Regions from separate parts of the Homo sapiens genome. Here region 2 is linked to region 1. The links are contacts of gene promoters, found by promoter capture Hi-C in blood cells and fetal thymus (Javierre and others, 2016). All regions are on one chromosome and are shown on one strand. The core of a region is centred on a gene start or on the middle of the fragment in contact, and the rest is flanking DNA. Distances in the headings are between cores, read along the strand shown. Region 1 holds the start of KLHL2 (kelch like family member 2). Region 2 holds the start of LOC105377517 (a long non-coding RNA gene).

Region 1 (7,133 bases), core at 1,471-3,970:
TGTTAAAAGAGAACACAAGCAAAAGCACCACGCACAGTGCCAGGCAGAGACAGGCATTCAAATATTTGCACATTGAATGAATTAATAAACAGACACTTACACAAAGAGAATCTGGGGCCGTGCTTCCAACCATACCATAAGGCACTTTAAGTCCAGGTCATCTTTCTTTGACTTAAAGCTCAGGCTAAAAATCTAACTTCATGAAAAGCTGAGTCTTCCTAATAGTTTCCACTGGCCTCTGTTCTAGCCCAGCTCTGGCAGTGAGGCCCGGTAAAGTTCCTTCCTAAAGACACTGCCTGCAAGTCTCAAATCCGGCACACGGGATCCATGGTGGAGGGATGTTAATGGGAGTGGAGGCAAACAGGCCAAGGGGTGGCAAGGAAAAAAACTATTTCTGATCCACAGAATGGCAAATAACACCATAACGAGTTCTTGAATTAGGTTTAATCCTGGACAGAACCAAATGAAAATAAAAACCTACTTGTATTTATAATTAAATAGACAGAAACAATGAAAAAGTCTCACCAACTTTAGCCACCCCTGATTGAAAGGAGTTTTAACAATTCTTTCATCCATGCTGGCATTCCAAGTTTTCCATTATATCTCAGCCTCTCATTGTTCCAGCACTATTGATGGAATCTCAATGCCAAAAATGGCGCTGGTCATCAAAATTATGATTAGCTGATCTACCCTAGAGTCAGTTTATCAATGTTTCAATGCATACATCAATTCTATTTTTTATTATTTCAATTTAAATCATCTGTGTCTCTATTCCCTCCCTCCCTCCAGAGGCTGCTTTCCCACACCCTTCTTTTCACCTGCATTCTAAGTATTCCCTTGTTCTTTCCTTTAGCTCCCTCTGTTCCAAAAGTAAAAACGAACTGCAGGAACTTATGTAGAAGGCAGGTTTACTACAGATAGCATACCTACATGTTACATATTATATACCATATGTTGGCTAAATACAGCTAGCATATCCTGCTTTAAGTGCTTCTGAGCCTGGGCAGACCCCCGTGTGCTCATGCTGCTGATGTGAACCATCCACCATCATATTTCCTAGGGGTTCAGGTGCCTTCCTCCAGCCTGCTGAAGAACATGACCAAATCTCAGAGCCCTCAAAGCCACAGCTATCGAGAGGTGACTAAGCCCCTGCTTCTGTCAGCCCAGGAAGGCCAATTCAAGAGTCTTATCTACCCCCTAGATTTCCACGACCTGTTCCACTCAAGCTAAAAATTCTGAAACGCACTTTTAGAAACTGTCGTTCCAGAATCCCATTAGCTCTCCTAAAAGGGCTGAACATCAAAAAATTATTCAACCCAAGCCAAGTATCCTTATTTTGGCTGGAATTCTGCCAAATAACCACAAGAGACTGGTGCGGTACAATCGGCATGGAGTGAAGCTTGCCAAATTTGACCGGAGAACGACAAGCCTCCATGAATAAGCTCTCATGAAAAGGTAAACCATTCTTCAGGATGAGGTTTGTCTGCGATTTGAAAAGTCAGATTCAAAGGACTCTTGTTCCTTCCTAAGAGAAGAGGGAACCAAAATTGAAATTTTCGAAACTCCTGGGTATTTACAGTTCACTTTTACCAAGATGTTTTTAAAACTAAAAACTAAAATTTAAAAAAAAAACCCTTGTTCTGAATAATGCAATAATGTCTTCTACATAATGTTTCAGCTATTATTTCTAGAAAGTAATTCTGTTGCCAGTGATCTTGAATGTACTTGGGTACCAAAGAAAAAAGACACCTGTGCCTGGCAGGTCGATACGCTACTAATTTGCCCGAGGTACGAACGAAACAGAAGATGCTGATTTCTGGATAAAACGTTCTGCAGTGCCAGGTAAAAGAGGTCACATGCCCTGAACGGCCGCCGCTCATTTAGAGTGATGCAAAAGCTCCTCAGATATTAATTTTGTTAGAAATTCGGGGAATCAAGCAACCTAAGATCAATTCATTTAGACAGCGGGTGACTGGTACTTTCCAGTTTCCTTTTTTCAACGGACTCAGTGCATCCTAGCCTGATCTCTTATAAAGGGGTAGGCAAACTCGGCACCAGGTGCCCATGCATTTCAGGGAGGTACACACAGGACCTGCAGGGTCACCCATGCACAGCCCCACCCCGAATCTTCTATCCGCCCGAGATGGGGAAGACCCTTCCCCAGAAATCCTGGGCAGCGTTTTAAGTCACCGCCTGGCCAGGCTGAGTTTCCGTCCGCGTCCGCTCAGGACTGCGGGCACAGCGCCTCGTCACGCCCCGCATCTCCCACCTCCCGCCGGCCCCGGCGGCTGTCCCCAGAGCTGCGCCCGCGGCCGGCGACACGCGCCGCAGCGGCGCGCTTATCCGCAGCGGCGCAGCCCGCCCGCCCGCTCACTCACGCGGGAGGCAGCGGCGGCGTCTCCATTGTGGCTCCTCTCGGGCTTCAGAACGCAGGCACCGACCAACACAGCCAGCACCATTCCAGCCGCGGACGCCGGCACTGCCCGCCCGCCGAGCCGCGTTCCATCCGCCCCGGAGGGGGCGCCGCGCTCTCCTCACCGCGCGCCACCACCTGCGGCGGCGGCCCCCGCGGCCATGGCCCGCTCGGCCGGGCGCGCTCCGTCTACTGCGCGGCTCCCGCGCTCGCCCGAGTGCGGGGCGGCGGCGACGGGACCGGCGGGCGCGCGGGCTCGGCCACTTCCGGGTTCGGCCCCGGCCGGCGCCGACGCTGTGACGGGACTGCGATGCGGCCTCCCGCGGCGGCCGAGTACCCCTCCCTCGGCGCCTCCCCTTCCTCCTGCTGCTGCTGCTGCCGCTGCCGCTGCCGCTTCTGCTTCTGGAGGCGGGCGGGCGGGCGCCAGCCGGGTGCGGGGCGGGCGTGCCCAGACGCTGGCCCGCAGGCCGGGACGCGGGCGGCGGCCGCCCACAGCGGGTCTCTGGATCGCCGGGACGGGGGCGCTGGAAAATGGGAGCGGAGGGGGTTCTCCGTGCAGAAAAAGGGCGGCCGAACGCACGGCGTAATAATGCTCGGTATCCACTTGCTGCTCTGCTTCGCGGGCGTGTACACGTTATTCTTTTCATTTGTGCCTGTACCCAGGGAGATGGGAAGGGTAGGCATAACCAACCAGTGTCCTTACAAAGGGTGGCACTGAGGCAAGAAGAAGTGATTTGCCTGTCCAGTGTCCCAGGCAGGAAGCAGGCTCTCCCTCCTCAGTATGCTAGCCATTCCTTGGACAAGTGAAGTGAGCACCTGCTAAGCAAGGTTTTAGTGCTGCGGCTGTGACAGCAAAACCAAGTCTTTCTGCTTGTGGAGCTGTCCATCTAGACGGGGTGACGGAAACAGTAAGTGATGCTTACCATGAAGAAACATAAATGAGGATGAGGAGAGGGAAAGAGATTTTAGAAAGAGTGGTCAGAGAAGGCCTCTCAAAAGGCATGAGTTAAAGAGATGGAATAACAGGGGCTTTGAGTAATGCAAAGAATGCCTAGGGCAGAGGGAAGAGCAGCGTGGAGACTGCTAAGCAAGATCCTGCCTGCCTTGTTGAGGAACGGGAAGGAGAACAGTGCAGCTGGTGGTTCTCCAAGTATGCCCGCTGGAAGCAGTAGCACCTGCGAACTTGTTAGAGATGCGAATTTTCCAGTCCCACTTTAGCCCTACTGAACCAGAAACTCTGGGGGTGGGGCCCAGCAGCGTGTGCTTTAACAAGCTTTCCAGATGATGCTTGCTGGGGCCGCGAGGGTGGGAGACCCTCTAATGAAGCAGAGTGAGGTCAGGAGGACGGCGGCAGGAATGGGTGTGGCGAGGAGTAATCACAGATCACCCAGGCCTTGCAGGCCGTGATAAAGGACTTGGCTTTTACTGAGATTAGAAGCAATTAGAAAGTGGTGAGTAGCTTGATCTGATCATTAAAAGGATGACTTTTCTGGGATTTGTTTGAAAATATCCCACAAAAAGAAGGACAGAGGTCGGGCGCCGTGGCTCACGCCTGTAATCCCAGCACTTTGGGAGGCCGAGGCGGGCCGATCACCTGAGGTCGGGAGTTCGAGATCCGCCTGACCAACATGGAGAAACCCCGTCTCTACTAAAAATACAAAAAATTAGCCGGGCATGGTGGTGCATGCCTGTAATTCCAGCTACTCGGGAGGCTGAGGCAGGAGAATCGCTTGAACTAGGGAGGCAGAGGTTGCGATGAGCCGAGATCGTGCCATTGCACTCCAGCCCGGTCAACAAGAGCGAAACAAACTCCGTCTCAAAAAAAAAAAAAAAAAGGACAGAGAAGTGAATAGATGAATATTTGCAAAATGTTAATTTTTGAGGCTAAGTGTTGGGTGCATAGGGGTGGTCATCATTTATGTGTGTTTATGTGTATGTTTTAAAAGATAATAATGGGCCGGGCGCGGTGGCTCACGCCTGTAATCCCAGCACTTTTTGGGAGGCCGAGGCGGGCGGATCATCTGAGGTCAGGAGTTCAAGACCAGCCTGTCCAACATGGCGAAATCCCGTCTCTTCTAAAAATAGCCGGGTGTGGTGGTGGGTGCCTGTAATCCCAGCTACTGAGGAGGCTGAGGCAGGAGAATCACTCGAACCCAGGAGGCGGAGGTTGCAGTGAGCCGAGATCGGGCCACTGCACTCCAGCCCAGGCAACAGAGCGAGACTCCGTCTCAAAATTCATAAATAAATAAAAGTTCATAATACAAAGTTTTTTTTAAAAAAAAAGATGACTGATTGCTGTATGGGCAACATGCATAGCGAGGCAAGAGAGCAAGCAAAGAGATTAGCCTAGCTGGGATGAAAGGTAAGGATGGCTTGGATTAGAGTCCGAGTGACTGAGAAAAGTGAACAGGTTCTGAATCTGTTTAGAAGGTAAAGTACTCAGGAACTGCTGACAGATTAGCATATAAAAGAAAGATGATCCTAAGGGTTTTGTTCTGATCTCTGGGGAGAATTGAGTTGCCCTTTACTGGGATTGGGGATATTGAGAAAGAACAAATATTGGAGGGCGGGGTGGAGATTGTATTTGTAAACTCTGATTTAGATATGGTAAGTTTGAGATGTCTGTTAAACATCCATGTGAAGATAGGTGTAGACAATTAGATATATGTATCTGGGGTAGATATAAATTTGGAAGTTGTTAGTATACAGATGGGTATTGAGATCAACTAGATTATGTAGCTAGAGAAAAGAAGTAGACCAAGAAGTAAGCCCTGGGGCACTCCAACATTAAAAAAGAAGAGGAGGAGGACTCAGCAAAGGCGATGGTAAAGGAACAACCAGGGAAGTAGAAGGAGATCCAAGGCAGGTGTCTTGGCAGCCTAGTGAAGGGTTCCAGAAAACAAACAAACAAACAAACAAAAAACCCTTAGTACACTTCAGCATGAGCTAACTTCTCTGTATGATGGTTCTGTTCAGAGCCATAATAAAACTTCCTACTTTACAAGGTTGTTTTAAGAATTAAGTGAAATAATTGATGTAAAGTATATAGCACATAAATGTATAATGGAAGCACTTAATAAATGTTAGTTGCTGCTATTATTTCTGTACACTTCTGTGGCCATCAGTTATACCTTACTCTGCTAGGAACTGGGTTAAGTCCTAGAGCCAGGAGATACTGACTTAGGTTTTACCAAACCTTTGGCCTGACTTCCTTCTGCATGCAAACTCAGTGAGTAGGGCTGACTCATCAGCCATTTCAGGAACTCTTTTGAGGCGGGGGGTGGGAGGTGGACTTTTTCTATTGCTTTTGTATCTTCCCACCCAAAATAGTGTTATGTGTACAAATAAATACTAAAAAATTACGATGTGTCCGTCTGACAGCTAGGCACATAACTTCAAACCATAGCCCCTCTCACATCCTCCTCTGGGTTAGTTTTGTCTATCATAATTCTTTGCTTAAGGGGTTCGACTCATCTAGCATGCTAAATGTCAACCCAAACCTTTCTTTTTTCACAACCACCCCCATTTGTAGGCTTCACAAGTATACTGGGAAAGAGTACATTACCCACATACAATTCAGCCTTACTTGGAGTTAAATGTCACACCAAAACTGGTCCTCAGCCAGATACAGCCTCCACCCTTAACCTGTCTCTCTGCTCACAAGAGAAAGTAAACAAAAATGCTTGACAGGCTGAGCCCAAATCCAACATTACAGTGGGGAAGAAACTTTTTAACACTTCTTCCTTTGACTCTCAGTTTCACTATCTTCTCAAGTGAAGGACACTAAGGATTAGGAGCGGCTACCTAAGACCACCAAGCTCTTCTCTTTTTCATTTCCCTTGACATAAGGTCTGACTGAACATGCAACGGTGTTGACCTCCCCTTGCGTAGGTTATTACCTCCACCCACGTTTTCATCATTCTTTAGCTGAGCCCTTCACACCCTTGGCAGAGGAATGAGATCTTACAAAAGTCCATCTGCCTCCTATGCTGTTAAGATAGAACAATTCCTTAAGCATGTTAGTAACCATAATCTAAAGCTAATGTAAGTAAATGGAATGTATCACTTGTAAAGAAAATGGAACCACTCAGATGAACAAGTCCGTGACAGTGGCTAGTGGCAAAAATCCCTTAGATTGAGCTGAAATCAGATGTTGCAATAGAACTAATGACATGACATGGCAGGCACAAACACATCTCATGGCAAGTATCCGGGAGCTAAGAATTGCTCCTATAAAGAAAAGACTTAACTTCGCTGAAGAATACAAAACCATTAGATGCTATATTTGTAATTCCTTCCAGTGCAAAGATGGCAAGTATGAAAAGATTCACTCATTCAAAATTAGGTACTAAAGAAGATAAAGGCCTTCTAAAAAGTCGCATTTTCTATCCTAAAGACTTAGTTTAAGTTGCTTTACTAATTTTAAATTAGGGATTTTGCTTTTAATATTTTGACTTAGGAGAAACTTAGCAGCATAATATATTAAGAAGCATTTCAAAATGTTCTTTTGATACTTTGCGGTTTAGCAAATGGATTTGTCAATACATTAAGATATGTATTACAAGCTTTATGGTGTCAAATGGGGTGACGTGCGTCTTGTGCTCCAGATCAATAGACAATCCTTAAGTGATGGAGTCCATTGTTTCCATGAATCCAATTTACTCTTCAAATGCTTGCCTCCTTGTTTTTGTAGTCTGTAAGATAGCAACTTTACTTCCGA
Region 2 (7,133 bases), core at 2,072-4,571, 2.0 Mb after region 1:
GGGAGTCCAATCAGGATCGTCAAGAGGTATAGCCTCTCTTCATATTGGGAATGGTTGTTCTGTTATTTCCTCACCTTCTATATCTCCCCTTTTCCTTTTTGGCCTACTATAAGAGATATGTTTTTCATCTCCGAACTTCTCTGCTGCCTGCAGAGTGCCACTTTTTCAGCTGCAGTGAGGGTTTGGCTTAGAAACAGCATAACATCCCTCCACGTGAGGTCAAACACTTGAGTTAAATTTTAGAAGGCCTCTATATTCCTATCAGGGTCATCAGAAAATTGGCCCAAGTCTCCCTTTATTTGCCTAAGGTCCTGTAATGAGAAGGGAACTTGCACCCTAGTGGTGCCCATTCCATCTGGCATTTTTTGTAGGGGTCAGAGTGAAGATGGGGCAGTGGAGAGCTTTGGAGATGGGGGAGCTGGAGGAGCCAGAGGAGCCAATGGCACAGTCACAGGGCATCCTGGATAAGGGGGACAGGAAGAACTGGTGGGGCACTTAGAAGTTGCCTCCAATGGCTCCTTAAAAACTTGCTTTTCTGACTTAGTCTACTCTCTACAGACTTGCCCAATATGGCCATCAAGAGGGCTTAGTCGATTGTGCAATGCTTGCAAAGGTCTGAGTTGTCTCTCAAGGCAAAGAAAGCCTGTACATAGAGGAGCTTGGGCCACTTGCCCTCCCATCTACAAACAAGGTCTAATTGTTGGATAAGATTAAAACCAAGGCTCCTTCAGCTGGCCAGGTCTGTTCATTTCCAAGATAGTAAGAAGGCCACGCCCTTGTGCAAAGGAAAATGAGCCACTTTTTCTTCAAAGTCTCAAGGTCAAAGGAGTTCCAGTGCTTCAGAATGTACTCCAGAGGAGTGCAGGCCAAAGATGGCTTGTTATCCATTTAGAAAAGAGACAAGAGGCATCCCTCAGTCTCCTTGTTCTTTTCAGTGTGACCCAGGGTGGAGGGGAAAGACAGTGGGAGCATCACCCCAACTGTTCTCCCTCCTTGGTTCCTGGGTCCTGGCACTGTAGTGCCACCCATAGTTGCAGGTATGACCCTCAAACCATGGTACCACAGAACTAAGCAATGGGGCTAGTCACACTACTAGCCCATGTGACCTTAGTCCTCTGCTTGGTGATTACCCTTTGACCTCCTAGACTTGTGTGGTCTGCATGACTCCTTGATGGATGGGTCTCGAGAGAGACTATGTAACAATTGCATTTGGGCAAGACCCCTTAATGGAGGGAGTATACTGGATTGAGCTTTATAATCTGCTCTTATGGACCAGATTAGAGAATTTATTCTTAGGTAGTGGTTCCAGTTAACTTCGAGACACAAAATCCCCTTTCTATTTAGATGCCATTCTAGTTGTAGGCAGAATAGGTGTCTTAAGAGAACATAAAGGTCAAATGGTAGCCTTTCTGCTAATGGAGAGAGTATTGAGATTAAAATGTGGTTTTGGAGGACATTTTTCTCCTCACTGCTGAAAGCAGAGTTCTCCCGCTTGCAGAGGGGGCAAAAAGTTTGGTCTCTAGCAGAGGGAAGCAAAACAGAAAAGAACTGGAAAATCTCCCTGTCTGTAGAAAATCACAAAAAGAGCAATCCTTTGATCTGCATTCCTGGTTTCTAAGGTGGTTGCTAAGCCTGCCTAATTGAATTTTTTCCAGGGCTGTAAAAACTCCTGCTGCATTGCATACAGAGAGGAAATGGGAGACATGGTGACAGTGGAAAGGAAAGGAGGAAAGTATAATGTGCAGTAGGAAAGCTTGGAGATCCTGTAGCTGACACCTGATTGGGCAGTTGGGGGCTGGGGACAGTCCAGAAGCCTTTAGATAGCACCAGGGTATAGCCCTGACCAGACAGAAATTTTCAGTTGCTCCAGGACCTCTCCCAGCCCCACAGGATGGCCAGGTTCTCCATGAAAGGAAACTGGTTTGGAACAGGGCCAACATTCCCAGCACCCCGAAGACACTGGGAGATTGACTAAGTCCTCCCCAGCAAGCCTCTCCTTTGAGTCTTCAAGAGCAGCAACTTGCCCTGGTGGCTCCTTAATCAGCTGTCAAATGCCTGGGTTTTTGATAGTTGAGAGAATAAAAACTGAGGATGAGAAGCCTCGGAAATTAAAGTATAGAGTCCGCTCCTATACTCATCCTGCCGATAAATTTACCTTCAAATCCCGGATGGGTCCCCAAGTATAAAATGGCCTCATCGTCTGGGGTAAATACCAAGGTTCTTGGTCTCACAGCTGAGGAAATCAAGAACATGAACACATAACCACAGAGAGTGAGACTGGAGCAGGAGTTTATTCGGCAAAAGAAAAGAACAGCTCTCGGTCACGGAGAGGGGTCCCAAACAGGTTGCCAAGTTGTAGTAAAAAATGTCAGTTTTTTATAAATGGGCTAGTAAGGAGGGTGTGACTTATCTTCCTAGGGCCCGAACAAATGGTTAGGACCAGGTGTGCTATCTGCATAGAGCAGGGTCTCTATCAGCCCCCACCCCATTCTTTGATCATGTGGGTACACTCTTAGTTTATGCTGCTCTGTGCTGTTTGTGTGTGCTAAAAGGGAGGGAAGAGTGTCTGTGCCTATTCCCAGGCACCTTCTTGCAGCTGCAGGTATCTCACCTGTGCCTACTTCCAGCTTCCCTGTCTTAGTATGCCTAAAGAAAGAGAAAGAGATATGCTTATGAAGGCCCACTGTTTTTACTGGGACCCATTGTATGTATGTGAAGTTTGGTGATTACCCAGGAAACTCCCCACTCTGTGCCTTAGTTGCTTATATGTGTTTTACAGCCTGAGCGTCCAGGCTGCTCTTTGTTAGAAAGGAAGTGATTTCTTTGAACTGATTGAGGTTAAAAAGGGAGCTATTTCTGAGCTGCTTTTTGTTAGAAGGAAAGTTTTCTGCCTGGGACTCACCCTAACTCTCTACCTAAATAATTTCTATCTCCTATAACACAAAGATACTGGACCAAGTATGCTCAGTTCCTTTTCCCAAGATCACCAGTCAGATGTCACTCTCTTATCTGATAAGTCACTCTCTTACAAGCTGAGTGTGAGAGGAGACTAGGTGGCAAGAGATGCCTAGTCTCTAATCTATAATTTCTGTCCATACTCTCAAATGAGTCCAGTAGAGTTTCAGTCCATTTTGAGTTAAAATAGCACTTATACCTCTCTTTTCCCTACTACACTAGTTGGCAATGCAAACATATGACCTTGACTTAAATTAGTGCTACAATATATAAATAGGAATAGCAACTCACCCAAACAGTCACATAACCTGCTTTTAATCATTTTGTGATATATATTAGAAAATCTCATCATTTTTATCTAGCAAGTGCATTGTAGGTTTCTGGAAATGTAAATGTGTCTATTCATGTATTTTTAAACATTGAAATAGACTAAGATCAATCAGTGACATTTATAGAAATAATTTAAGTTTTACGTGCTCCCTTTGAAATGTAATATGCCATTTAAATTGTAATTTAATTCAAGGTAAATTCTCTCATAACGTTAATAGTGACCCTGTAAGCTACACAGTCTTCCAAGGTGTTTTTTTGGATTTAGTCTTAGGTTAAAGACTTCAGGCTAAGTTTAGCAACTGTTAGAAATAATGCGGTTGAGAGGAAGGCTGTGGAAGTAGGTAAATTCAGGACATTCTGAAACAAGCACTTAGAAAAATTACCATTTGTGAAACACTGACCTACTTCAAAGCTAGGCATAGGTACCACTATCATTATGTTGAAACACAGAAACATTTCCACCACACAAACAAAAGACTTTTATTTAAAAACAGTAGCCTTTCTTAGATATCATCAGATTAATTTAAATTGAAAGAATAACAGATATTATCTGTTAAGTCATATTCCTTACTCTGATTGTCCCATTGAGCTTTATTCTTTCTTTCTTTCATTCATCCATTCAAAAATCCTTATAGGATTTATTCTGTTTCCAGGCACTTAGAGAAACAGCTGTGAATTAGACAAAGATCCTGGGCACCTGAGACTTAATTTTATGAAAAAACAGACAATAAAGAAGTAAATAAATATAATTTCATGTGAAGATAAATACTATTTAAATAAAAACAGTGAGCTATAAGCTAGGAAGTGATTGGTATTGAGGGGTGCACTTAGATTGGGTGGTCTGGAAAGCTCTCTCTTAGGTGTAGTGTTTGAGTAGAACCATAAATGAGTAAAAAGGCCACGTTAATATGAAGAGAAGAGAGAACAGAAAAGTGAAAATGTCACACGTGAAGAATTAACTTGGTGAGTTGAAGGGAGATCAAGACCAGTGCTCATGTGAAACAAGGGTGGGGAAGACGGTAGGAGATAGAAACTGGAGAGGTAAGTAGTGGCCAGATCAGGTAGACTGTTGAAAGCCAAAGCAGGGAGTCTGAATTTTATTCTAAGTGTGCTTACAAATATTTAGAGTTTATAAATAATTAAGCAGGAAATTACAATGATCTTATTTATTATCCCCTGTGAAGGTCTCCTGTTTTCTCAGATTAACAAATTCATGGTTCTCTTTAAAAGTCCAGCTCAAGTATCACACGCATTGTAAAGCCTTTTGTCATTGTCAGTGAGGCAGTGGTTGGGTGGTCCTGTTTAACCAGCTTTCCTAGAGGTGACTTCTCCCATTCAGTTCTATTCAAGTCAAAGATGAGTCTTAGAGACTGTCTCATGCTTTAGTAGTTTATTCTGGCATCGCTCTTAAAAGATAGTGGGAAGAGGCTGGGGGTATAGACCAGATAGTCAGGGCTCGGATGATCAAGAGAGCCTCCAACCAGAGACTGTTCTCAGTGTTGGGGGTTTCTTCCCCCTTTTTAAAACCTGTATTCAGCTTGGTCAGTTATCAGATGTTTCTCTCATAAATGGAGTCGAAGCTATTCTTACAAGGGTAAGCTTTAAGGTTCATGAAAGTTGCATCTGTGCTGAAGTGGCCTGGTCTCCTGGAAATCACTGGGCCAGGGGTGGAAATCTCCAGGGCCAGTTAGTATTATATTGATAAATACATTTAGTGTCAGCCCCTCAAGACACTTGAGTGAGCCTTATGGCTATAATTACTCTTATAGCCACGATATATCTCTTATAGTACATTTTCCTTAATTTTCCAAGTATCTTCTCTGTCTTTAGTTTTCCCATTTCATACATTCTTGCATTTACATGGTACATTTCTCTACTATAGTACCTTCTGCTTGTTTTCAACTTGTCTGTTCTACTGAACTGTTAACTCCATAAGGGTAGGGACTGTGTTTATCTTCCTGTATGCATAGTTTATAATGCAGTGCACAGCATATCGTAATGTTAAGAAAATGATTACTGAATGAACAAATGAGTATTTCAATTATCCCATAACTTAGGCTTCTGGTCTTAACCTTTCTGTCAAATTCCAGTTTCTTATTTTTAAATGCCTATTTACATTTTTAATTGTCTAGTTTTTCTTCAGACTCAACTTCACATACCCACATCTCTTTCCAACTTCTCCGTTTAATTAATTAATTAATTAATTTGAGAGGGAGTTTCCCTCTTGTTGCCTAGGCTGGAGTGCAATGGTGCAATCTTGGCTCACTGCAGCCTTTGCCTCCTGAGTTCAAGCGATTCTCCTGCCTCAGCCTCCCAAGTAGCTGGGATTACAGGTGCCCACCACCATGCCCAGCTAAGTTTTTGTATTTTTAGAAGAGATGGGTTTTCGTCATGTTGGCCAGGCTGGTCTCAAACTCCCGGCCTCAGGTGATCTGCCTACCTCAGCCTCCCAAAATGCTGGAATTACAGGCGTGAGGCCCTGCGACTGGCCAACTTCTCCGTTTTTATTGGTAATACCAACTTCTTTCTAATTTCCTTGACCAGAAATTTTAGAGTACTTTTATTCTTCCCCTGATGCTGGGGATGTCCTTTACTCTATTTCATTGACTGTAAGCCTAGTTCAGACTTTTATCACCTAATTCCTGGAAAAATGCAACAAAGTGGCTGGCTGGGGAATAATTCTGGCTCAAACGTCTTCCCTTCTCAAATCTGTACTGCATGTCTTTGCAAGATCATTGTTAATTAAATATTTTATTCGTGAGTTCATGCATTGTTCCATTTTCCAAGTATTTTTGCACACTGAATGTATGACATGCCACTCCCTTATATAAAGCCTTACTTAGTGCTCACATGAACTAAATGAGATAGTATTTTTATCTCCATTTTACAGATAAGGAAATTAGGATTTAGATTAACTGCCCAAAGTCAGTAACACCAAACACAAAATGGTAGAGCTGAGGCCTGAACACAGGTCTTTTTAGTTGAAAACTCTGAGCTCTGCTTAATCATTGTGCTAGTAAGTTCGTATCCCAAGTTTAAAGTCCTTCTTCACTTTGGAGGATTTCCATGAAATAGCCTACCAATCCTACTTCCCATTTCTGCTGCACTTGGATTTTCTATTTCATATTTCAAATATTTTTCTAGTTATCTCCTGTGCATTGCCCTTCTCTACTTCAAGTAGATTGTAAGCTTCTTAAAACCTTACTCTTATTACACTTGCCTTGCATTTCTATGAAGATCTACTGTTGTAGATGACACACTAAATTCTCAGTGAATAATTTATAAAATCTTTAGCACAGTCCTTGGCACATATGCATGTTTAACAAATGGTATCAATGATTATTATTACTACACAGGGACTGATGCCTCAAACTGAAGACCTAATAGGAAACCAGAAAATTCTGATCTCTTCCTCAGTCCTAAGAACTCTGCTTGCTTTCTCCACAATTTAGACTAGTGGTTTCCAACAATAAGTGAGTACATTTCAGTCTCATAGTCTCATCTCTCTACTACGAAACAGTGCTAAGTATGATATAGACATCACCATAACATGAACAACACAGCAAAATTTTGTCCATTACTGCTCTCTTTGAGGGTACTTTGGAGAAAGGAAAATGGAATAGTTGTAGTTACATTTTTGAAAAAATGGTTAATACCCTATCTATCGACAGATGGATCTATTGATGGATAAACTTCATTTAACTTTCATGAAGTTACTAGCGTCTTGTCAAGACTTCCTGGCTCAAGTTTCTGATGTACAGAACTTAGCATTCTTCAGGCACCCCCCTGTTGTATAATCCCTGCTTCATTTTGGCGCTTCAAGCAGAATTGGTTCACATGCAGCAATA

Evidence for each region. The method cuts DNA at HindIII sites, captures the fragments that hold promoters and counts their contacts. A CHiCAGO score of 5 or more calls a contact.
Region 2: a fragment that was not itself captured here is called in contact with the fragment with the promoter of KLHL2 in region 1 in 4 of 17 cell types (naive CD8 T cells, activated CD4 T cells, monocytes and 1 more); the score reaches 9.7 in naive CD8 T cells.

What each region holds. Positions count from the first base shown.
Region 1 is chr4:165,203,148-165,210,280 of GRCh38, reverse strand. It overlaps KLHL2 (kelch like family member 2), which reads right to left and starts at 2,720. Exons shown (of 15, transcript NM_007246.4): 1 at 2,379-2,720. The coding sequence starts at 2,404. RefSeq lists a silencer at 2,419-3,068 and an enhancer at 2,599-3,099. The HindIII fragment of the contact is 2,287 bases long and covers 1,402-3,688 here.
Region 2 is chr4:163,167,381-163,174,513 of GRCh38, reverse strand. It overlaps LOC105377517 (a long non-coding RNA gene), which reads right to left and starts at 2,238. Exons shown (of 3, transcript XR_939414.2): 1 at 2,156-2,238. The HindIII fragment of the contact is 3,131 bases long and covers 1,756-4,886 here.